Linked DNA regions of Homo sapiens: region 1 is linked to region 2. Evidence: promoter capture Hi-C in human tissues and cell types (Jung and others, 2019). All regions are on one chromosome and are shown on one strand. The core of a region is centred on a gene start or on the middle of the fragment in contact, and the rest is flanking DNA. Distances in the headings are between cores, read along the strand shown.

Region 1 (6,779 bases), core at 3,897-6,396, 320 kb after region 2:
TGAAGAGTGTTAATGTGAGGAAACTAAATTTTTTGAATTGAGTCATTTTAGATGAGCAAGAATTTTTTTTACTGATTTCTATTGTAATATAATTAATCTGATTATTTTAGAGCAAGACAGTATCCATCCCACCCCCATTCCTACTCTGTCCCATGAACATATGCTATAAGATTTTTTACTTGTCAACATCTTGAACTGAGAAGCCAGTATTAAAATCTTAACCTTTATAACACAATGATTTTTGCCATTTGCAGATGACAAAATTCCCTGTTATTCTTAATTTAGAAATAATGTGAGTGGACTTGTTTCTAGTTTGTTTTTGCTTGCTAAAGAACACAAGTTGTTTGGGTTTAGGGTGGGGTTTGGCGCACCTTTTCTGAAAGGGCCAGGTAGTTAATATTTTAGGCTTGGGAACCATATGGTAACTGTGCTTGTTGTAATTGGAAACACCTATAGACTGTACATAAATGAATGGGCATGGCTGTGTTCTAATAAAACTTTATATATAAAACAGGCAGAGCCTGGGGTTTGGTGACTCCAGCCTAGAATTTTCTTCCATTTAAGCTGATTTCATGTCTGAAAGAAAGTAAAAGACAGGATGTCAAATTACTGCATTAAGTTATTCCTATAACGTAGGCACCTGTGGCTTATAGAGACTGTTGTTTTTAAGTGCTGCTATGTTGCCTTTATATGTATAACCATAAGCAAAAATTTCTTTCATCCTGCTCTACCTTTTCCTCAAATATTTTGACTACCTGTCATGTACCAGATGTTAGGCTGGGGATAAATGGTGAAGAGGCAGAGTGGCCCCTGTCCTCGTAGAGCTGTAGACCAGTACAGGGGGCAGACAGTAAGCAAATAAAGTAATTCTAGGCTGTGATAAGCACTATGATGTTATCAAGCATGGTGCTGAGAGAGAATTGGGGGGTGGGGTGTTATGTATATAGAGTGTTGAGGGGAGGCCTCCCTTAGGAGGTGAAGTTGAAGCTGAGACCTGAAGCCAAGAGGATTTAGTCATGTGAAAAACCTGATGGGTCAGAAGACAGTCATCCTCCCCTTCTCCCTCCCTGGAATGTCAGTCAGTATAAACGTGGATAAACTGTTCACATTTTCAGAGGAAATATTAAAAGCTATTTTATAATATTTTTCCCCCTCTTTTTAACTTCCTTTTTAGGTAAGATTAAAAGCAATGAGAACAAACAAATTTTTGTCTTCTGGTTAACACATGCACATACATTCTGAGTATACATTGAAGTGTTAGCTACCAGGATAAAAGTTATGGCATTGTGGCCTATTATTTAGAGCCTTTGGGATGTGTGAAGTTTGTTAAGCATTGTTCATTTGCATTTTATAAGGTTGAAACCGCCTGTATTTGCGTTCTCATGGCGCTCCTAAAGGAACATGCGATGGGAGAGCGCCCTCTGCTGGCGACTCTCCCTCATAGTGCCTGCTATAGCCAGTGTGAGAGGCGAGGCTTCCCTTTCCAGAGGGTGTGCTCCAGTGGTCAGGCTTTGGGGTCTCACAGGCCTTCCACTGTCATATCACAAGCTCTTTAGGTCACGCTTGGGAGAATATTCATAAATAGACTTGTACATCCCTAGCTCCTGTCTTCTGCTGCTTTTTTCCTTATCTGTGGCCCTCTAATTATCAGTGCACTTTGCTGAACTGGTTACTGACACTGTGATGGCAGATGAAGAGGGCAGTGTAAACTGAGTGAAGCTCTTGTGTTTTCACCTGCTGTCTTTGGCAGCTAAGAACCAGCTAAAGTTGCCTCACTTTACTGATACATGCTGTTGACAGATGCATAAAATGAATATAAAGTGGATATGTGTTTGGTAGCATTTTGAATCTTTGTACAGGAGGAGCATGCCCTACGTGAAGTGATCATCCTGCAGGAGCCTTGACCTAGAGGGATTCACCGTGTTGGCTAGGTTTGGGGTGTTTCATTTTTGTTCTCGGTGTGTTCTGTTTGTTTGTTTTTGTTTTGTTTGTCATTGTTTGTTTTTCATTTTTATTTTGTCCCAACATTTTCCTTTATGGTCCACCATTAGATATTGATCAGTTGAAGCTCATTTTAAGACTCGTTGGAACCCCAGGGGCTGAGCTTTTGAAGAAAATCTCCTCAGAGTCTGTGAGTTGATGCTTTGTAATTATCTGCCCTGTTGGGAGCCTCTGCCACTTGCCTTCTACCAATCTGTACTTTGACCTGGGTGTGTTTGTAAGCACACATGCCCTTTGTGTGCTGACTTCCCGGATGAGTGAGGTATAAGACAGTGTGAGTGTGTGTGTGCGTGCACGCATGTGTGCCTGCTTGCATGCACAAGTGTGTTTTATTCTCTATCTGGGTACACACTAAGATCACGGGAGCCTCCATTAGACAATAGTATCCCAGTAAAGCAATGAGATTTGAGATTCTAATTCATTCCAAGAGATTAATGTAAACTTTGTGTCTCTGTCCTCAAGACCTGACTTTCTTCTTTCTCAGAAGTTTCACGTATGCTCTAGAGCTCTTTTCACTGTTTCTAGTGTTTGTTCTCAGAGCATGAGCTTCACCATGTATTTAGTTTAACTTAATCACTAAAAGAATAAAATGTACATTGTCTGCACACTGTTGCCCCTTCCCAGAAGTTATTTTTTATTGTTTTAGAATAGATACTCACATATCCTATGTAAAATGTTTGTTCCCAACAGAGGGACCTTTCTACCCAGTCCCTAGACCCCACTCAGAAGAAACAGCTTCACTCCTGATACCTCAGATACACAGGAATGTGGTTATAAATTTTCCTCCTATTGCCTTGTAATTATAAGTTAGATAACCTGAGACAGAGTTTGGAACTAGTGCTTTCTTGCTTCTAAGCAGGGACTTAGACAGAAGCCATGGGAATGTGAGTCTGGCTTACTTTTGCTATGATTTCCTGCTCTTGGTCATTTTCTTGGGCCAGAGGCATGAGAGAAGCCATGAAAGCCCAGCTTTTCTTTTTCCCTCGATCTGCTGCCAGGCAGTTGAACAAAAGAAAAAAAGAGCTATGGAGCCAAGCTCCAGTTATGCCTTCCTGGATTCTCCTCCCAACATTTATGACTGAAGGGGCCCTTTGCCTAGTTGGGAAGATGGCTGGGTAGCTTGAGGCAAGCATAAGCAGGTGAGTTGGAACCGTTCATCATCTTCCTGACAAAATAAAGAATACCGTCATCTGGTATGTATCCGGTACATTTCTTGAAAGGATCCCAAAGCCCAGTGTATTTCTGAACCTCCACTCTGAATTTGTTTCATTTACTTATTTAAGATAAAGAAGCAAAAGCCCAGAAGGGCAGTGACTTTTCCATGTCATGCACTGAATCACGTGGCAGAGCTGAGTATAGATCCCAGATGTTCTGATAACATGATCCAAACTATAATCCCATGTGATTACACACTATTTTGAAAGTCATTGTCAGTGTTACCACAATGTCAACCTAAAGAGGTATTTTTTTCTCCTTTATGATATGTAGAAGCTGAATTAGAGTGAATCAAAGATATCAGATGATGCTTAGAAAGAGCAGTACTTTTTTTTTAATGTTTTTGCTTAGAAACACTGTCTTACAGTAAGAGGACCTAAGGGCAGAGGGAGGAGCTCAATTAATAAATAGTGCTAATGAGACCAAGCAAATTCATTTCCTTCCTGAGAGTGTCTCCTAGCAGCCCTTTCTTAGTCTTCTCTTCCATCCCAACCATCTGCCCTATAGATACGTGCTATTAGTCATTTGGAATTGGATTAGGAATTCAAACCAAAGTCTAGGTAAAATAGTCAATAGTATTTATCTGTCATTAATCCATCACTTATTTTTAAGAAAGAAACAATGAGTGCACAGCCTAATAATGGAGGTCTCTCTGTGAAATGAGGCACATTATACATTTCAACAGCTCTACTGAAATTGAGTACCAGAATACAGAACTTAACTCAAATAATATTATATTGAGTATAAGAATAAGAAAGGTTTTTTTTTTTGGTTTGTTTCCTACATAATTGGGGTGAGTGGATAAAAGTAGTTTAAACATCCTAAGGGGTAGACAAGATTAATTTGATGTTCGTGACACGGCCCAAGTACCTGTTTATCTTAAAAGCGCATGATGTATGGGAACAGAATGGAAAAATAAGGCCAGGTGAGTAAAATTGTTCAGAGATTTTAAAAATTAAAAAAAGAAAAAAGACATTAGTGAAGGAGTGCAGTAAATAGCCAACAGCTGTTTTCATTCTCCTGAAAAGTAGTGAAGTAGTGATGGCAATAATTATGAAGAAATTGAATGCCGAGTAAGAGAATGCAGTAATGGATTTAGAACCTATTAGAATGAGCCATAGGAAAAGGTATAAATGGGTTGTGATGGAGGCCAAGGACAGAGAATTCATTTGGTTAATGTCCCAGTATCTATAATAATCAGTGAAAGAACAAGAAAATCATATTAAGAAAGCAAAAGCAGACTGGGCACAGTGGCTCACATTTGTCATCACAGCACTTTGGGAGGCTGAGGCAGGAGGATCACTCGAGGCCAGGAGTTTGAGGCTGCAGGGAGTGGTGATCATGCACTGCACTCCAGCCTGGGCAACAGAGCAAGACCTTGTCTTTAAAAATAAATAAACTAATTAATTAAATTAGATAAAAAAGCGAAGACCTGACTCATTCACATTTTCCTCCAGAAATAGAATCTTTCTAACTTCTTGACAGAAAGGGGATATAATAACCTCTTTGACTAAAGGAGACAAAGACAGAAAATGTGCAGGCCAGGTATCATTCACAGAAAGAAAGGGGAAGTGGAGGATTTTTACATTTTAAGACCCAACTGGTATTCTGCTATTGCTGGTTTACTTTGTGGCCCCTTTTTGTTATTTCCCTTGGCATGAAAAGTATCATTTGTTATGTGATTTGTTAAAGGTAACTCTAAATTCTGTTATCTGTACTCCTAACAAAATAAAGAATTCCATCATCTGGTATGGATCTGTTAACGTTTCTTAAAAGGACCGCAAATCAAAGTGTATTTCCTATCCCCTTTTGGAATTTACTGGCCTCTGTCTTTGGGCTTAGGGAGCGTAAAAGGCAGCGTGGAGCACATGGCTCTAGCTCCCTCCCTGTGGCCAGCCTTAAACAGATTACTGCTAAGTCATCTGACCACTAGGGAGTTCAGTTCAGAGGACGAGCTAAAGTAGAAAAATTATTTGGGAAAGCCATGAAGTAAAATTGCTTGGCCATGGTGCTTATTAAAGATGACACTTCACCTGAATGAGGGAATTAGTAGTTAACAAGAACAGGACTAGAAAAGGGGTTTATTGAATTACATTGAATATTTTTAAAATCTCATCACTTCTGCTCTTAGTAGGAACATGATAAACAGTTCTGACATTTTAGAAGAGGGTGAGTTGTATTAACATTGATGGAACAGTTAAAAGAGAGAAGTTGTAGTACAGCTTACATATGTGCCTATACATATAGAAAATCTCATAGTTCTGCCCTTATCAGATGCTTGCAGAGTATTCTGCAGACTTCCCTCCAGCTGTTTGTTAAATGAGGTTAGTCTGTTCGCTAGTTGAAGAGACTTGTGGAGGAAATCATGTGGCATGCTTTAACACTCTCAGCAGCCTGTGACTTCTGTTTTGCCTTTGCCATTAGCCTCTAACCTTCTCCTCTTCTCCTCTTTCTTCATTTACCATTTTGTGTTTGTGGCAAGTATTTTAAATGTACCACTAACTAATGTCTTTGAAATGTGGCATTGCTTATTAACCCAGATGCCCACGTGTGTCTTAATTCGGAGGGATGGTGCCTTGGAGAACCTGTGCCGCAAAAGTTTAGTCTCTTCCTTGAATGGATATGTTGGATATTTTATTTTGTTCAAAGTTGAGTCAAAATTTTTGGAATCATCTATATTTCTCCCACAAACAGGTTTTGGCCATCAGTACTTGAAAACAGTTCTATGGCTGGCATCCTGGATCAAGGGGCAGTCTGTTTCCAGGGAACCTAAAATATTTAACAGTAAAGATGATGCTAAAACCAAAGAAAAGTAATTTTTCTTATCTGCATGGCCAGTCACTGGCTACGTGCCTAGTTACTCATGTCATTCACAGAAGTGTACTGTAGCATGCAGCTGTGGGCTCTCGGGTAGGGGGAATGGAGGGTAGGTTTTTTTGTCTGTTTGGGGGTGGCTTTTTGACCTTTTTAAAAACTTGAGTTGAAAATTATTTTTTGCACTGTATGTTTAACAATGCCCTTGACTAGGCATCTAAGATATTAACCAGCTTCAGCAGATTATGCGTCTGACAGGAACACCCCCCGCTTATCTCATTAACAGGATGCCAAGCCATGAGGTGAGAACAAAGAGACTGTACAGGGATGTCGCACTGAGAAGCCACATTCTCATTTTATTGCCACCGTATAACCAACAGTTCTTAACATCACTGGATGCTTGCATGTGCCTTGAGGCCTGCCTATGTGCTATTGCAAGATGTTGACTTTTGGGATAAAATGTCATCCAGTCCTGTGAGATTGGGAATATAATTAGTAAGCTTGTAAATGGAAAATTGTTATTTTTATATTTGGTTGTGTGAATTTAGTGCTTGTGAGGCGGTTTCTTTCTAGGTGCTCTGCCTGTAGCTAGGGTGTGCTACTATCGTGACCTTTATCAGAAGGGTAGTTAACTGAAGTCCATTAGCATGCTTTCCAATTCATCCATTTTTTTAATGACCAAAAGAGGATTCTTTATTTAAAAACAAAACTGAAATATCCAATACTAATATGTACTATATTTAAAAGAA
Region 2 (6,764 bases), core at 675-3,174:
ACCTTGGATGCTAGTTTTTTTTTTTTTTTTTGAGACAGGGTCTCACTCTGTTGCCCATGCTGGAGTGCAGTGGCACGATCATAACTCACTGCAGCTTCAGCCTCCCGAGTAGCCAGGACTACATGCATGTGCCACCATGTCTGGCTAATTTCTTAAATTTTTTTTGTAGCAATGAGGTCTCACTATATTGCCCAGGGCTGGCCTTGAACTCCTGAGCTCACGAGATCCTCTCAGCCGGGCATGGTGACTCCCACTGGTAATCCCAGCACTTTGCGGAGGTTGCAGTGAGCCGAGATTGTGCCATTGCACTTCAGCCTGGGCAATAGCGTGAGACTCTGTCTCAAAAAAAAAAAAAAAAAAAAAAAAAAAAAAAACCAAAAAAACCCCCAAAACAACTGATCCTCTCTCCTTGGCCTCCCGAAGTGCTGTGAATACATGCATGAGCCACCATGCCCAGCCAGAGGCCAGTCTTATAGATGGCTACAGGATGGAAGAAGGGTATCTTGCCCCAAATCAGACTGTACATAAAGCATTATTGTGCCAAGCCACGAAATTCCAGGAGTTCTGTTGTTACAGCCAGTGTTAATTACTCTGTGACAGCTAGTGTTAATACAGGGAGGGCTCACGGAAATAATGGATACAAGGCCCTCTGAGTGCGGTGGGGGCTGTTATTCTTGGCTGTTATTCCCCACCAAGACAGGATTCCTCGGTTCATTTCTTAAGCGAAACTTCAAAAGCAGAAGCAGGCTGGGAGTGGTGGCTCACGTCTGTAATCCCACCACTTTGGGAGGCCGAGGCAGGAGAATCTCTTGAGCCCATGAGTTCAAGACCAGCCTGGACAACATAAGGACAACCTGTCTCTATAACAAATATTAACAATACAAAATTAAAAAAAAATAGAAATTAAAAAAAAGCAGAAGCAGGCAGGTGGGGTGAGGTGGAAGCTTCATCCATAGGGAAGTCCTGAGGAAGGCCTGCCTCCCCCGGTTCCAGGATTGCTCTGTGCAGCTCTAGCTCTCCCTTAACCCTCCTCCCTATTCTGAGTTTTCTTCTCTTCCCACTTCTCCATTTTGCCCCCACATCTTGACTTTCACACAATTCACAGACAAATCCTTAGACAATTAATAGAATGATTAAGACTGCAAGAGATTTAAGACTTAGAGACCATCTTGTCCCACCTCCTGGTTCTTACAGAAGAGGAGAATGGGGCCTGCAGCGGGTGTGAGCAGCCCAGAGGGTGGGGCTGGATTATCCCGAAGGTAAGGGGAGAATCTGGGGCTGCAAGGGCAGACAGAGAATCAACATCAGGAAGGAAGCTCTTTTTATTTCAGCATATATGTTTTGTGCCGTTTATAAAAATAAAGTTTTGAGGCCAGGTGCGGTGGCTCACACCTGTAATCCCAGCACTTTGGGAGGCTGAAGCAGGACCATCACTTGAGGCCAGGAGTTAGAGACCAGCCTGGGCGACATGGGGAGACCCCCGTCTCTACAGAAATTTTTAAAATTATCCCGGCGTGGTGGCGCACACCTGTAGTCCCAGCTACTCGGGAGGCTGAGGCAGGAGGATCACTTGAACCTGGGAGGCGGAGATGGCAGTGAGCCGAGATCACGCCACTGCACTGGGCGACAGTGCGAGACTCCGTCTGTAAAATAAATAAATACAATAAAATAGAGTTTTATCTTACAATAAAAATAGAGTTTTATCTTACAGTTTCAAGCTTCTACTTGGAAGTAACACGTATGGAGGCTCCCAGGGCCCCTACAGTCTGGAATCCCGCCCGTGCGAGCCTGAGCGCCTTTCCTCCCTCCTTCCCTTCCGCAGGCGTCCTCGCCCTCCACGTCCCTCCTCCGCCGGGGTGGCCTGGGGCGCCGGGTCACGTGGCCGGGGAAGAGGTTTTATCCCGCGGCCCCTCGGAACCCCGCCGCTGCTCTGCCGCCCAGGCCCATGGCCGCAGCCCTGGCGCTCGTGGCGGGGGTCCTGTCGGGGGCGGTGCTGCCCCTCTGGAGCGCGCTTCCGCAATATAAAAAGGTGAGCCGGGGAGCGCGCCCAGCCGGCCGCGACCGCAGGAGAGGGTGGCCCCGCCGCCGGGGCACTGGAGCCCGAAGGCGCCGGGCAGCCTGAAAGGGAGAGGTGGGTCCGGAACCACACCCAGGCGGGTAGCCTGGGGCATCCTCAGACGGACTTCAAAAGCCGCTTCACTTTCCCCTGGTGGCCTCAGAGGGGAGAGAAATTGGCCTATGACCAGCACCCTCGCTCCCTCCACCTCCCCCGCCCGTGCCCCTTCCGATGGCCTCAGTCCTGGGCTCGCTTCCCTCCCCAAACTGCTCACAGGCAAACCCACCCTGCATGCTCTGGTTTCTCCTCCTCTTCTTCCACCTCCTCTCACTGTCTAGTGATTCTTCCAGGCACGAGGGCTCTCCCCTTTTCTCCTCTTTCTCTCCCTCTTTTTCGAGCCCGCAGCCCCTTCATTCTCATCCCCCAACCCTGCCCCGCAAAATGGGACTTAAGAGTACACACCCCATGGGACTCATGGAGGTGAGGGGGGTCCAGGAAAGGAGAGGCCGAGGGAAAAGTGCTAATCCCCCTCTCCTCCTCTCTGCTGCCCTGGGTCCTGCTGAGGGGCCGGGGTGGGGCTGGGGGGGGAACCAGCCCCCCAAGGGGTGACAACCTCATGACTTCTCCTGGATCCCTGGGCTCTTTGGCAATGGTGGGAACCCTCCCCTACCCGCCCACACGACTCAGGGATTGCTCCCAGCCTGGCAGACATTCTGCCTGTCCCCACAGAAAATCACAGACAGGTGCTTCCACCACTCTGAGTGCTACAGTGGCTGCTGCCTCATGGACTTGGACTCCGGTGGAGCCTTCTGTGCCCCCAGGGCCAGAATAACCATGATCTGCTTGCCCCAGGTGAGGCCCTAGTATGGGGCAACTTCTGGCAAGTAGAGAAGCGGGCAGGGAGGTTAAAAAAAAAACACCTGGCCCCACCTGTTTTTTCACCTCTGTCTGGAGTGCCCTTCTTCTTCTCCACTTGGCAAACTCCTACTCATGGTGCAAAACAACTCCAGCCACCTCCTCTGAGAAGGCTTCCCTCCTTGGAGCTCCTGTACCCTGGGGTCAGACCCTCAGCAGACCATGTATCTCCCTAACTGGCCATGTCTTTTCTCTGCCTCTCCCAGTGGTTGGAACTCTTCAAGGGCAGGGATCGCATCATATTCATCTATGAAGCACCTACCCCCAGCTTAGTATCTGCACATAGTAGGTGCTCAATAAATGCTTATTGTTGTTTGTTTGTTTGTTTCGAGATGGAGTCTCGCTCTGTCACCCAGGCTAGAGTGCAATGGCATGATCTCGGCTCACTGCAACCTCTGCCTCCTGGGTTCAAGCGATTCTTGGGCCTCAGCCTCCCGAGTAGCTGGGATTACAGGGGTGCACCGCTATGCCTGGCTAATTTTCGTATCTTTGGTAGAGATGGGGTTTTGCCATGTTGGCCAAGCCGGTCTTGAACTCCTGACCTCAGGTGATCCACCTGGCTCGGCCTCCCAAGGTGCTGGGATTATAGGCATGAGCCACCGTGCCCGGCCAATAAATGCTTGTTGAATGAATGAATATCTCTTCTCTCACACCACTGAGGCAGGGTAAGTAGGAAATGACCTTCCCCTTACTAGTCCCCATCTCCCTGCCACAGTGACATGATTTCTTGAGAGGAGCATGGCACTGCAGTGGCAGGACCACAGCTTTGCAGTTGGACCTGAGTTTAAATCCTGACTTTTCCACACCCTATCTTTGTGACTTCAAGCAGGTCATCATGGCTCTCTGAGCCTTAGTTTCCTCATCTACAAGGAGAGGCTAAAGTACCTACCCCACCAGGCTGTTGGGAAGATTATGTGGTCCTGGCAAGGAGAGTGTGCAGTCCAGCATGGTTGTCACTCGCTTTTAGGAATGCAGGGAGCAGAATGCTCAGTACGCCCTGTTCCTGCCCACCTGGCCCTGGGCCCAAACCTTTCTAGGATGGATGGACCCAGCCTCTATGTCCCTGTGTGGGGAGTTGCCAATGCCCTAAGGAAGCAGCAGGGCCCCTACCATGGCCTGACCCTATAGCTGAAGTGGCTAGAGGGTTTTTATTTTTTTTATTTTTTGAGACAGAGTTTTGCTCTTGTTGCCCAGGCTGGAGTGCAATGGCGTGATCTTGGCCCACTGCAACCTCCACCTCCTGGGTTCAAGCAATTCCTCTGCCTCAGCCTCTGGAGTAGCTGGGATTACAGGCATGTGCTAATTTTTATATTATTAGTCCATGACCATGTTGGCCAGGCTAGTCTCAAACTCCTGACCTCAGGTGATCCACCCGCCTCGGCCTTCCAAAGCGCTGGGATTACAGGGGTGAGCCACCGCGCATGGCCTAAAGGGTCTTTTTATTATCACCACTTGATCTGCTCTATCTCATTTAGTCCTCACAACAACCCTATGAGGGGGGTTACTATTACTGTCCCCATTTGACAGATGAGGAAACCGAGCTGGAGAGGTTCATTGACTTGCTGAAGGTCACGCAGTTATAAGCTGTAGAGACAGCCCAGGTCTGTCTTACTCCAGGCCTGGTACTCTTGGTTCTGGTCCCCAAGAAGTTTAAGTCCCCATCCTTCCTGCATCCTGGTGACTCCCGATTCTCATACCCACTCCCTGCAGACCAAGGGAGCTACCAACATCATCTGCCCTTGCCGGATGGGCTTGACGTGCATATCCAAGGACTTGATGTGTTCCCGCCGGTGCCATATGATTTAGAGGAAGATGCAGGCTGGTCACTGCTCCCTTGGGGCCATAGGCCCTGGTTGCCACCAACTTGCTCCAAATCCAGCTCCTGAGACATTAAAGTCACTTCCTGTCCTTGGCCTCTGTCTGTACTTTCTGGGCGAGGGGACCTGGTGGAGATTGTACCAGTCCAGGGGGCAGGCAAAAGGGGAGACTGGAGGCATGAATGAGCTTCTAATGGGATTTGGCCCTGTCCGGAGGTCAGGGTAGAACTGCAGGAAGGGAATGGCACAGGGAGGGTGTGGTGGAGCAGGGGCTGGGTCTGGGAAAGGGCTGATTCTCTGGTTGGAGGGCTGTGTGGGAGAGACGGGATTGAGGAATGTACCTGGAGAGTGTATGTTGGGGTGCCTATGGAGGGGTGTGTGGTAGGGAGAGACTAGGTGGAGGTATCTGAATGTTTTGCGGGGCGGGTTGTGGGGCACAAAAGGGTAGAGATCATTAGAGAGTTGGTGAGAATGTGCAAAGTATAAATGCAGAAATGCCTGTGGTGGGAAAGGGACCTGGTGCATGGATGCCTCCGCTCTCTCAGGTATTGTCGGTTCACTGCATGGACAAAGAAACTGAGGCCCAGAGAAGCGACATGACTTGCCCTAGGTCATATCATTGGGGTAGCAGTGAGGCCTCTTTCTGCTGCAAGTATCTTAAAAACCAACTCAAATTGGTCTAGGTGAGGAGGGGATTTACTGGTGATGGGAAATGAAAGTCCAGAGGTCAGGCAACCCTTAGGTAGGGCCAGAGCCAGCAGCTCTCAGGCTGAATTCCTTCCCAGTAGTCACAAACATTCCAGGTGTCACCTAATAACAGGTAGGATTTATTGAGCACTTCCTATGTGCCAGACACTGTGCAAAGTGCTTTCTTTTTCATTTAATTAAAAAATTTAAGACAGCACCCAGGCTGGAGTGCAGTGGCTCGATCGCAGCGTACTGCAGCCTCAACCCCCTGGGCTCAAAAGATCCTCCCACGTCAGCCTCCCAAGTAACTGGGACTACAGGTGTGTGACACCATGCCCGGCCAATTTTTTTTCTTTTTCTTTTTCTTTTTTTTTTTTTAATAGAGACAGGGCCTCACTGTATTGCCCTGGCTGGTCTCAAACTCCTGGGCTCAAGTGATCCTCCTGCCTCAGCCTCCCAAAGTGCTGGGATTACAAGCATGAGCCACTGCGCCTGGCCCAAAGTGCTTTCTTAACTGTATTGACTCATCTTTTTGTCACAACAGGGCTATAGTAGGTGTTATAATTATCCCTATTTTACAAACAGGGTATCGAGGCTCCTAAAGTAAGGGTTGGAACTGAGACTTGAACCCAGACAATCCTGCCCCAGAGGCCAGGCTCTTAACCACAAATCCACCATGTACATCAATACTGTGCCTTTCAGAGAAAGAAAACATCTCTGTTCCACAATTTTCAGCAAACATCCTAAGATCGGTTCTGATTGGATTGGCTTAGTCTGCCTGAACTAATTATTGTGGTGGAATTTGCTGATTGGCCTAGCCTGAGTATTGTGCAGGATGGGAAAATTCTGACGGGGTTGGGTGCTGGTTTTACATGGTGTTCCCACAGCTGGGAGGACACCCACATGGTCGGCGTGCAGGATATTTCGCTGGACCCTAGAAAAGCCACCACGACCTGTGGGCCATGATGCTACCCCAATGGCTGCTGCTGCTGTTCCTTCTCTTCTTCTTTCTCTTCCTCCTCACCAGGGGCTCACTTTCTCCAACAAAATACAACCTTTTGGTAAGAAAGCTGGAGAGTGCAGTCACCTCCCCCTCCACTGTCCTAAGGCCTGTACTATTTGGGGAGGTGAGCGGGCATGGGGGCTAGTGTGGGAGAAGGCCAGAAGTGGGGGCAGCAGGGAGTGTTGGGTGGAAGATGTCTCGGAGGAAAGAGAGAACAACCTGGTCCTGGAAGCTGTGCCAGGGCAGTGCCAGGTGCTGCTGCCACAGAGGTGAATGTGAGAGAGCC

Evidence for each region. The method cuts DNA at HindIII sites, captures the fragments that hold promoters and counts their contacts. A contact is called where the count stands out against the background at its distance.
Region 1: a contact is called between a fragment that was not itself captured here and the fragment with the promoter of CLPSL2 in region 2, in 1 of the 25 tissues and cell types used here (IMR-90 fibroblasts).

Annotation. Positions count from the first base shown.
Region 1 is chr6:36,093,936-36,100,714 of GRCh38, forward strand. MAPK14 (mitogen-activated protein kinase 14) reads left to right here. Exons shown (of 12, transcript NM_139012.3): 9 at 2,052-2,131. Among named protein-coding and RNA genes, the nearest start is that of MAPK13, 33 kb to the right of the region's middle. The HindIII fragment of the contact is 3,890 bases long and covers 3,202-6,779 here.
Region 2 is chr6:35,774,674-35,781,437 of GRCh38, forward strand. It overlaps CLPSL2 (colipase like 2), which reads left to right and starts at 1,925. Exons shown (of 3, transcript NM_207409.4): 1 at 1,925-2,029; 2 at 2,786-2,908; 3 at 4,682-4,879. The coding sequence starts at 1,946. The coding sequence ends at 4,777. CLPSL1 (colipase like 1) reads left to right here and starts at 6,346. Exons shown (of 3, transcript NM_001010886.5): 1 at 6,346-6,536. The coding sequence starts at 6,438. RefSeq lists a silencer at 1,906-2,035. The HindIII fragment of the contact is 15,017 bases long and covers 1,332-6,764 here.